Regions from separate parts of the Homo sapiens genome. Here regions 1 and 2 are each linked to region 3. The links are contacts of gene promoters, found by promoter capture Hi-C in human tissues and cell types (Jung and others, 2019). All regions are on one chromosome and are shown on one strand. The core of a region is centred on a gene start or on the middle of the fragment in contact, and the rest is flanking DNA. Distances in the headings are between cores, read along the strand shown. Region 1 has its middle 7.8 kb from the start of CTIF. Region 2 overlaps DYM (dymeclin). Region 3 holds the start of MBD1 (methyl-CpG binding domain protein 1).

Region 1 (2,700 bases), core at 41-2,540, 1.8 Mb before region 3:
CCCAGAATGCTCTTTAGCAGAACTGAATGCCTGTCATAGCTGACAGATGAGCCACTCAGAACATGCTTGCATTTGTCAATGATCCCTCCAGCTGACTCCACAGTCGACTGGTTTCACAAAGCATAACACTGGTTGTGATTTGTGTCTGGGTAACCACAGCTTCCAGAGATGGGCCCTGTCCAAGAAGCTGGTATTCAAAAATTACAACTCAATTGATAGGAGAAGAGTTCACTGGTACTGGCTTAGTAATTAAATTGCGAGGTGATTATTAGTCTGCTCAGGCAAAAAGATCACATGTGAGTACTTTAAGTAGCCTAAGACTAAAAAACTCCTCCCAGAAAAAAAAAAAACAAACCTGTAACTAAATTCATACCATTTTCTGCCAATTATAGATGCCCTCCAGTGACTTTAAGGTTGCCACAGCAACATGCCCACTGAAAGGTTGTCTTAGTCCATTTTGTGCTTCTATAACAGAATACCTGAGACTGGGTAATTTATAAAGAGAAGATATGTATTTCTTACCTTTCTGGAGGCTGAAAGTCTAAGGTATAGGGGCCCACATCTTGCAAGGACCTTCTTGCTGTGTCATCCCATAGTGGAAGGTGGAAGGACAAGACAGCACACATGAGCAAGAGATCAAACTCACAGACTGAAGCCCTTTCATAATCAGCATTAATCCATTATGGGGTGGAGCCATCATGACCTAAACACCTCCTAGTAGGCCCTGCCCCCCAACGCTGTTGCATTAGGGATTAAGTTCCCAACACATGCTTTTTGTTAAAAAGAAATGTGTTAAATAATGCATTGGGACATATTCACTATAGCATAGGGCATGATTGCTAAGTCCTGAAATATATGGATATAGCAAAGAGAGAATGTTTCACATCTTATCTCTGTGTCAAGCCAAAATTTTCTTCTAGGGGTAGGACAGGTGAACTGTCACCAGGCAGCTCTCCTCTCTTCTGTGGCGCAATCTGAGGTCCCAAGCTGGCTTGCCACCTCTGCCACTGCCCCACAGGGAGCACAGCAGCCCGGCATTTCCCCTACACTGCTCCCTTCCCCTGGGTGGTCTCCCAGTCCACATAAGCTAATAGGCATCCTCCCTTGTTTTTCTGAAAACCTCCTCTGCCACCTCTCCCAAGCAGGGTTCCCTGACCAAGTGGCAGCTTGGTGCTTTCTAGAGCAGATCCCATTCAATCACCTAGCTCTGCACAAAATAAATTCAAAGGCTTCACACACCCTTTGCCTTTGTTCAAGTCCCAGACTTGCTGAAAATCAGCTGACTCCTGTGAAGGTGATAATGGGGAGTAATGCTGTGAACCACACTGATACTGAAGACACATTCCAGAAAGCTGCTGATGAGGCAAAATTTGGTCTATCAGGTCTGACATTGCATGTACCAGACGTGCTGCTACTTAAAGAAATGATGGCTACTTCTTTTGTAAAAGGGATAACCATCTTACAAAGTGTCTTTTGTGTAAATTTCTATTTTTATATATTAGTAGGTACATTTTAGAATTTAAAAAGCTGTCTTGAGTCATTTCTGGAAAGAGTGGAGTATAAACAAATCTGATAATTTTGCCAAAACGGAAAAAGAGGTGGGGTGAGGGTAGTGGATCTGCATGTGAGAAAGGGACAGAATGACAGCTCATGAAGAACCATGAGAACAGATCCTGATTCTGCAAGTTCTACTGAACCCTCAGAGGCCCTGCTGAAGATGAGGATGAGGATTACTGGGATTAGGGCACAAGCCAGTGTTGGATCTCACAGTCTGGGTCAGGCTGGGAGTGGCTCCCACAGTCTGGGCCATACTCTACTGTCTACCCGCATTATAACTGAAAAACAAAATCTAATCTCACCCTCTTGAGTCATAGAATAAAGTCCTAATTGGTCAAAACTTTTGTTCCTGGTCCCACACAGCCTATCACTTGGGTAACAGCAAAAATAATAACAATAATAACCAAAAAATAAAACCTGGTGTTACTATAAGTCCTTACTATGTGTGAAATGCCTTGTATACATCATCTCCTTTAAGCCTTATAATGACTTACTGAGATATGTTCTATTATTTCTCTCTTTTGTAGAGGAAATGGAAGCTTAGAGTTGCCCAAGGTCAAGTGGTGATAAAAGGGGAAGGCAGGATGCAAATCCTGGTGTCTGCCTCCTGAGTCCAGTCTTGAACCAATGACACACAACTAACTTTCTGGACTTCGTGCCTCCTCCTCCCCATTGCTCAGCCCCTCCCCGATGTGAGTTCCCACTTCTAAGCTCCTGCCTGCCTATCACTGGGAAAGCCCCCTTTCCAGCCCTGGTCCCATCCTATCACACTCATGCCTGGCTCGGTTCCACTTCTCCCTTGAATGTCTCTCTGCTGCTCTAGCTTACAAGGGTTGCCTTTTCCCTGAACAATCACTCTGTCTATATTACACATATGGCACACCTTGGATTTTAATATTTTACTGCCATTTCTGTTTAAAATGTGTATGTCATCTGAACTAAACTGTGAGGTTCTGTAAGCCTAAATTAATGCCCACTTTTGTGTGTGCTGGTCATTCATATTCAACTTTGAACAAATGCGTTATATATAATAAATACTAGGGTATAAAGGATCATTTAAATAATTTTTTAATGTTATCTATAAAGAGTTTTTAATAACACAGAAAATATGTGTTTAATTTTATTACATGAGAAAAGCAACAT
Region 2 (2,700 bases), core at 22-2,521, 1.1 Mb before region 3:
TACCATATGATAAGATTTATGACAAAGTGGCAAAGGAAAACTAAATAACAGAAGGGGGCTTGGGTAGTAAGAATGGTTTGACTACAGAGCAGCACAGCGGAATCTTTAGGGAGATGAACATATTATCTTCACTATGGTGGTAAATACATGACTATATGTGTTTGTCAACTCAAAGAACTATTTACTAAAAGGGAAATTTTCTACATGTAATACATTTTTTAGTGTCCTAACAAATTAAAAACAACAGTCACTAAGGTGAAGCAGTAGCCTATGCTGGTCGAATATACCAACTGTATTCAAGGGAAGAAGAAAATTAGGTTATAGATTTTAAGCTCAATTCTAATGTCCTGTTCAAGCACAGACCATTTGTCTTTAAAAACCTTTGATATCAAGCCCCTTATAATCTCTCTACACTTTTCACATGTCTTTCCCATGCTAGCATCCAAAAAAATCTTACTACCTCAAAAAAGAACTACTATCAGACATCTGGGAACAAAACCAAGTGTTTCCTGCCATGACAGAGACTTGTTAATATCCTACCAAAAATGAGCTATACTGAAATGAGATAAGTTCCTGAGAAAAGCTTACCACACCCTAAATACTACAGCAATGGTTCATTCCACATCAATCTGTATATTGGCCCCAAACAAACAAAAGGCTTATTAGAGAAGAGTTATTTCTCAAGGTCTTAATGGAAGTCAGAGGAAATAGTCAATGAAGCACTAAATATTTAATTCAAAACACTCAGTATACTTGGTTTGGTAGTCTGAGACATACGCCTTATAATTAATAAAACAGATTTTCTCCTTAAGAATCCACATTCTATCTACTATCAGATAAAATTCTGCAGAGGGCAGAGAACAAAAGAGATACAGAACCATGCAGAAAAACTCAATAACCTATATGTAGAAATAAGTAAAAGGCAAAAAAGAGTATTTCTACACGATGAATATACTTTAAAATGCACATAGAGCTTAAATAATCAAATGGGTCCATTATTTATTTAAAAAATGACTTCATGAATGTCACTAAAAGAATACTATTTTTCTAATGCACAATATTCATCTTTTAGATAGATATATTAGCTTAGACTACTACACTGCCTTTTGAGAAGTTCAAAGAACCTTAAGATCAACCTCATTACTCCATCCTTTAAAAAGGGTTTTCTAATTTTCAACTTATTTATTCATATATGTATGCGCTTATGTATGCATATATTTAAAGCAATGGAACCCTTTCTTCCAATGAAAGCTGATGTGAAATGGCAACGTGTAAACAGATCAAAGCAGAGGGGAGCTGCTCTGGGAGGAGTAGAGTGGGTATCCCAGAGCAGCTGGTGGCTGCTCATGTTGACACCAGCAAAGAAAGCACGAGATCTAGAGTACGAGAACAAAACACAGAACCTGAAAATGATTGCTTTAAAGTAAAAGGTATCAGAATCACAGAATCTTGGATTTGGGGGTAGACCTCCCTTTACCCAATTTTCCATCCATCTCTCTGATGGTGCCTCCAAAGGTATGCAGCCACTGCTGAACAGCTTAAGTTCTCTTAGGTCTTTCCCAGGACTCTTTCCCAAGTGAAAATGCAGGTCACAGTTACACTGTCCTATGTGAAAGATACTGAAATACATGAACGAGTTGCCACATTCCTTTTGGTTATTAGGATCAGCATGTTTCCTTTGTCAAATAAAGTGGAGTGGATCTACTTGTATCTGGTTCCTCTGAGGTAGTGGCAGTCTAGATCCAACTCTAATGAAATAAACAGCTGTTACAATGCTTCGTAGTGTACTAGCACATCTGGAGCTAAAAAGTCACCAGAGGAATCTTAGTCAAAGATTCCTCTAAATACAAACTGTAAGTACTAACTAGCCTTGAAGAGGGTCACATCAACATGACTCTTAAAACTGCAACGTCTGTATCTGATTTTACTTCTGCAGGCAAGAAAAGGAACACAGGTTGGAGACAAGAAAACTTAGTATTCATAGATAAAAAATTTTAAAACATGTAATTCCTTTATAATAATATTCAGTTATATATACCTTCCAAAATTCTTTTTCTTGCCATCTGTTGATGTTTCTAAATTACACATGTGATTTTCATGTTCCCCTGCCTTTTACCTACTGAAATACTATTCATCCGATAAGATCTTGTTTGAAAGACAGGTACGTTATGAAGTATTCTGCTTTATCCTAGTTTGGAACTATTTGCTCCCCCCACTTTCCATATTCATATACTTTGCACAATTTATCACTTTCTGTATTAGCTGGCCATACGGAAATTCTACTTGATTGAAACAGAATTTCTTCTTTTTTGATTTTTTCTTTTTTTTTTTTCTTTTTGAGAAGGGGTCTCACTCTGTCACCCAGGCTGGAGTGCAGTGGCGCGATCTCGGCTCACTGCAAGATCCACGTGGGTTCATGCCATTCTCCTGCCTCAGCCTCCCGAGTAGCTAGGACTACAGGCACCCACCACCACACCTGGCTAATTTTTTGTATTTTTAGTAGAGATGGGGTTTCACCGTGTTAGCCAGGATGGTTTCAATCTCCTGACCTCGTGATCTGCTCGCCTCGGCCTCCAAAGTGCTGGGATTACAGGCGTGAGCCACTGTGCCCGGCCTCTTTTTTTTTTTTTTTTTTTTTTTTGGAAACAGACTTGCTCTGTCGCCCAGGATGGAGTGCAGTGGCGAGATCTCGGCTCACTG
Region 3 (2,700 bases), core at 123-2,622:
TATATGGAAAAGAAACCCCTCATATTCTCACCCCATTCTTTCCTATTCTGGGCCTAGGATATCATCATTCCTCAACCCAAGGATCCCTGTTTCTTATTCTCAGTGTCCTAATCCCCTACTCCTCTCTATCCTCAGACTGACAACCCATCATTTCTCCTCACTGCCAATCCAGAAACTTTTCATCCTTCCCCCTCATTCCTCCCTGTCACTGACCTAAGGGCCTCTATCCCTCTATTTTATCACCCCAAGACCCCCATAGTCCCCATCCTCAGCCCCAAAGGGCCCCATTTCTCTTGCCCTCACTACTTGACTTCAGTAGTCTCTCATTCCCCCCTTCCTTGACCCAGGAGTTCCTAATTTCCCTCCTTCAGTGTTTTAACCACTCCATTCCTTCTCTGCCTGATGTCCTCTTATCCTGCTACCTCAGTGTTACAACCTCGACTTCCTCTGCGAGACACAACTGCTCCAACCCATAGCCTGAACAGCCCCTCATCTTTTCCATTCCTCACACTGGAAGCCTCCCATGCCTCCCCTTCCTCAGCCCAAGACCTCCCCCCTTATTTTTCTTCTCCTTCAATGTTCTCACCCACAATTTCTCCCTAGTCTGAGCTCCCAAACCTTCCTCTACAGCCAAAAAGTTCCCCACTTCTCCTCCTTACTGTTCTCATCCTCCATTCCTCCCTTATCATCCAGAGAGACCCTAATTTCTCCCCTCAGCATTCCGAACCCTCCTCCATTCTCTCTGTTCTTGTCCCGGGATCATGCCATCCCTAACTGTCACCATTCTGATCCCCTACTGCTCCTCGTCCTCTATATGGGGCCTCCTATTCCTCCCTTTCAGCATTCCAAAGCCTCTATTTCTCCTGTCATCAGCCTGAGGGCCCCTCATTTCTCCCTCTCAGAGTTCTGAACCCCCATTTCTCTCTCAACTTCAGATGCCCCGATGTCTCCCTTTAGCGTTCTGATCTCCACCATTCCTCTCCGTCCTCGTCCCAGGATCCCGACACTCCTACCTGTCAGAGTTCAGAGCTGCATTCCTTCCCGTCCTCAGCCTAAATCCCCCCATTTCTCCTCGTCAGTATTCCGACGCCGCCATTCCTCCCCCTTATCGGCCTGAGGGCCCTTCATTCCTCCCCGTCAGCGTTCTGAGCCACAATTCCTTCCCATCCTCCGCCTGAGCGCTCTCCACGTCCAGCCCCAAGGCTGTCTCACCAGTTTGGCACCAGGCCGGTATCTTCCGCCACTCTAGGCCCGTGGACCCATGGCGAGGGTCCCTCCTGCACCTCCCGCCTCGCCCTCCTCCCCTTCCTCCTCCTCCGCGGCCGCCTCCTCTGAAGCGGTAGCTGTCGCCTCCGCGGCTGTTCGTTGCTCCCGGAACCGGAAGTCCGCTGCCTGCCTCTCGGGCTCCGCCTCTGGCTAAGCACCTGCGCACTATTGCCTCGATGTCGCGTGCCCTTAATAGGGAGGCTCCCGCGCCTACGGGCCGGCGCTCCGCAGCGGTGCGCGCGCCCCCCTGCCGAGAGCCAGTTGCATCTGCGTGCTGACGTTCAACGACAGCTAACCCCTTCGAGGGACTGGCAGTTGCGGCTCTCCTCGCTGCCCATCTAGCTGGCGCATGCGCTTTCCAGCCTCAACCTGAAGGGAAGCGGTCGGGGAGGGCTTGCGCCTGCGCCCTCCCTTCCCTCCCGCGGTCTCCACAGCCGATACCGAACGCGGCAAGGAAGCTGCTTCGCGCCTGCGCACTCCCTGGCCCTGCCGGCGCTCTCCTCTCCCACCTCTCGCTGGGGTCTATCCTGTGTTCGTGGGTCCCTCCGAACATCAACCCCAGGGGGGGTCGTGTCCCGCTCCCTCCTCCCCGCCGAACAGCTGTGGGAGCGCGCGGGGCGGGGAAAGGGGCGGTGCCACACCGCAGGTAAACTGAGGCACGCGGGAGGGCGCGCCCCTGCAGGAGGCGGATCCCCAACGTGGGGCTTGTGGGGAAAAGGCGGGGCCTGGCGTCCACAGCGGACGACAGCTCTGGGTGGGAGACAGGAGCATGCATGGGCGGTGTCACCACACTGAAGGCGCGCTGCGTAGACCCTCTGCCCGTGGGAGGCTGGGAATGTGGGTCCCTGGGCTCTCGCGGGGTGCAGGCGCCCCCCATCTTATCCAGAAGTCTGGAACAGTTGCAACCGCAGCAATGTGGAGACAGCTTCCTTGGTTTCTTCAAAATTTTATTAACAAAACCCAGGGAGAGGAGGCAAGGATGAGTGGACTCCGCAGCCCCACCAGGCACTGAACATGTCGACGGGGACAGTCCCTCTGATAAAGGCAGATGGGCGGTCAACCGGTGGATGGGCACAGGGAGAACCGGAGAAACAGATGAGTGGAGGAACGGACACACGGGCACCGGGCGGCTCCCCCATCTGGAATGCAGGGTGTAAGGGGTCCGGGCCAGGAGGCTCAGCGGTCGGCACTGGAGCGCAGGTCGGTAGTGAGGGGATCGTGCTGGATCGTCTGGTGCAGCATCAGGGCCAGCAATCCCGCGCGGTTTGTCATGGCTGTGCGCACATTGCGCTCCTGCTCAAACAGCTCGTCCAGCTTGTACCACTGCCAAGGGAGCGGCAGGAGTCCTAAGCAGGAACACCTGCAGCCCCGCCTGCCCCGGCCACGTCCGACATGGAAACCTACCACATGCAGCACCAAAACCGCACAGAAACC

Evidence for each region. Contacts are between HindIII fragments. The study calls those that stand out against the background at their distance.
Region 1: a contact is called between a fragment that was not itself captured here and the fragment with the promoter of MBD1 in region 3, in 1 of the 25 tissues and cell types used here (spleen).
Region 2: a contact is called between a fragment that was not itself captured here and the fragment with the promoter of MBD1 in region 3, in 1 of the 25 tissues and cell types used here (dorsolateral prefrontal cortex).

The regions. Positions count from the first base shown.
Region 1 is chr18:48,529,907-48,532,606 of GRCh38, forward strand. No RefSeq gene overlaps it. Among named protein-coding and RNA genes, the nearest start is that of CTIF, 7.8 kb to the right of the region's middle. The HindIII fragment of the contact is 6,431 bases long and covers 1-2,700 here.
Region 2 is chr18:49,229,987-49,232,686 of GRCh38, forward strand. The region is part of intron 13 of DYM (dymeclin); the gene reads right to left. Among named protein-coding and RNA genes, the nearest start is that of MIR4744, 180 kb to the left of the region's middle. The HindIII fragment of the contact is 7,681 bases long and covers 1-2,700 here.
Region 3 is chr18:50,280,151-50,282,850 of GRCh38, forward strand. MBD1 (methyl-CpG binding domain protein 1) reads right to left here and starts at 1,373. Exons shown (of 17, transcript NM_015846.4): 1 at 1,213-1,373. It overlaps CXXC1 (CXXC finger protein 1), which reads right to left. Exons shown (of 15, transcript NM_014593.4): 15 at 2,197-2,589. The coding sequence ends at 2,443. RefSeq lists silencers at 1,106-1,185, 1,196-1,305 and enhancers at 1,451-2,031, 2,032-2,612. The HindIII fragment of the contact is 21,891 bases long and covers 1-2,700 here.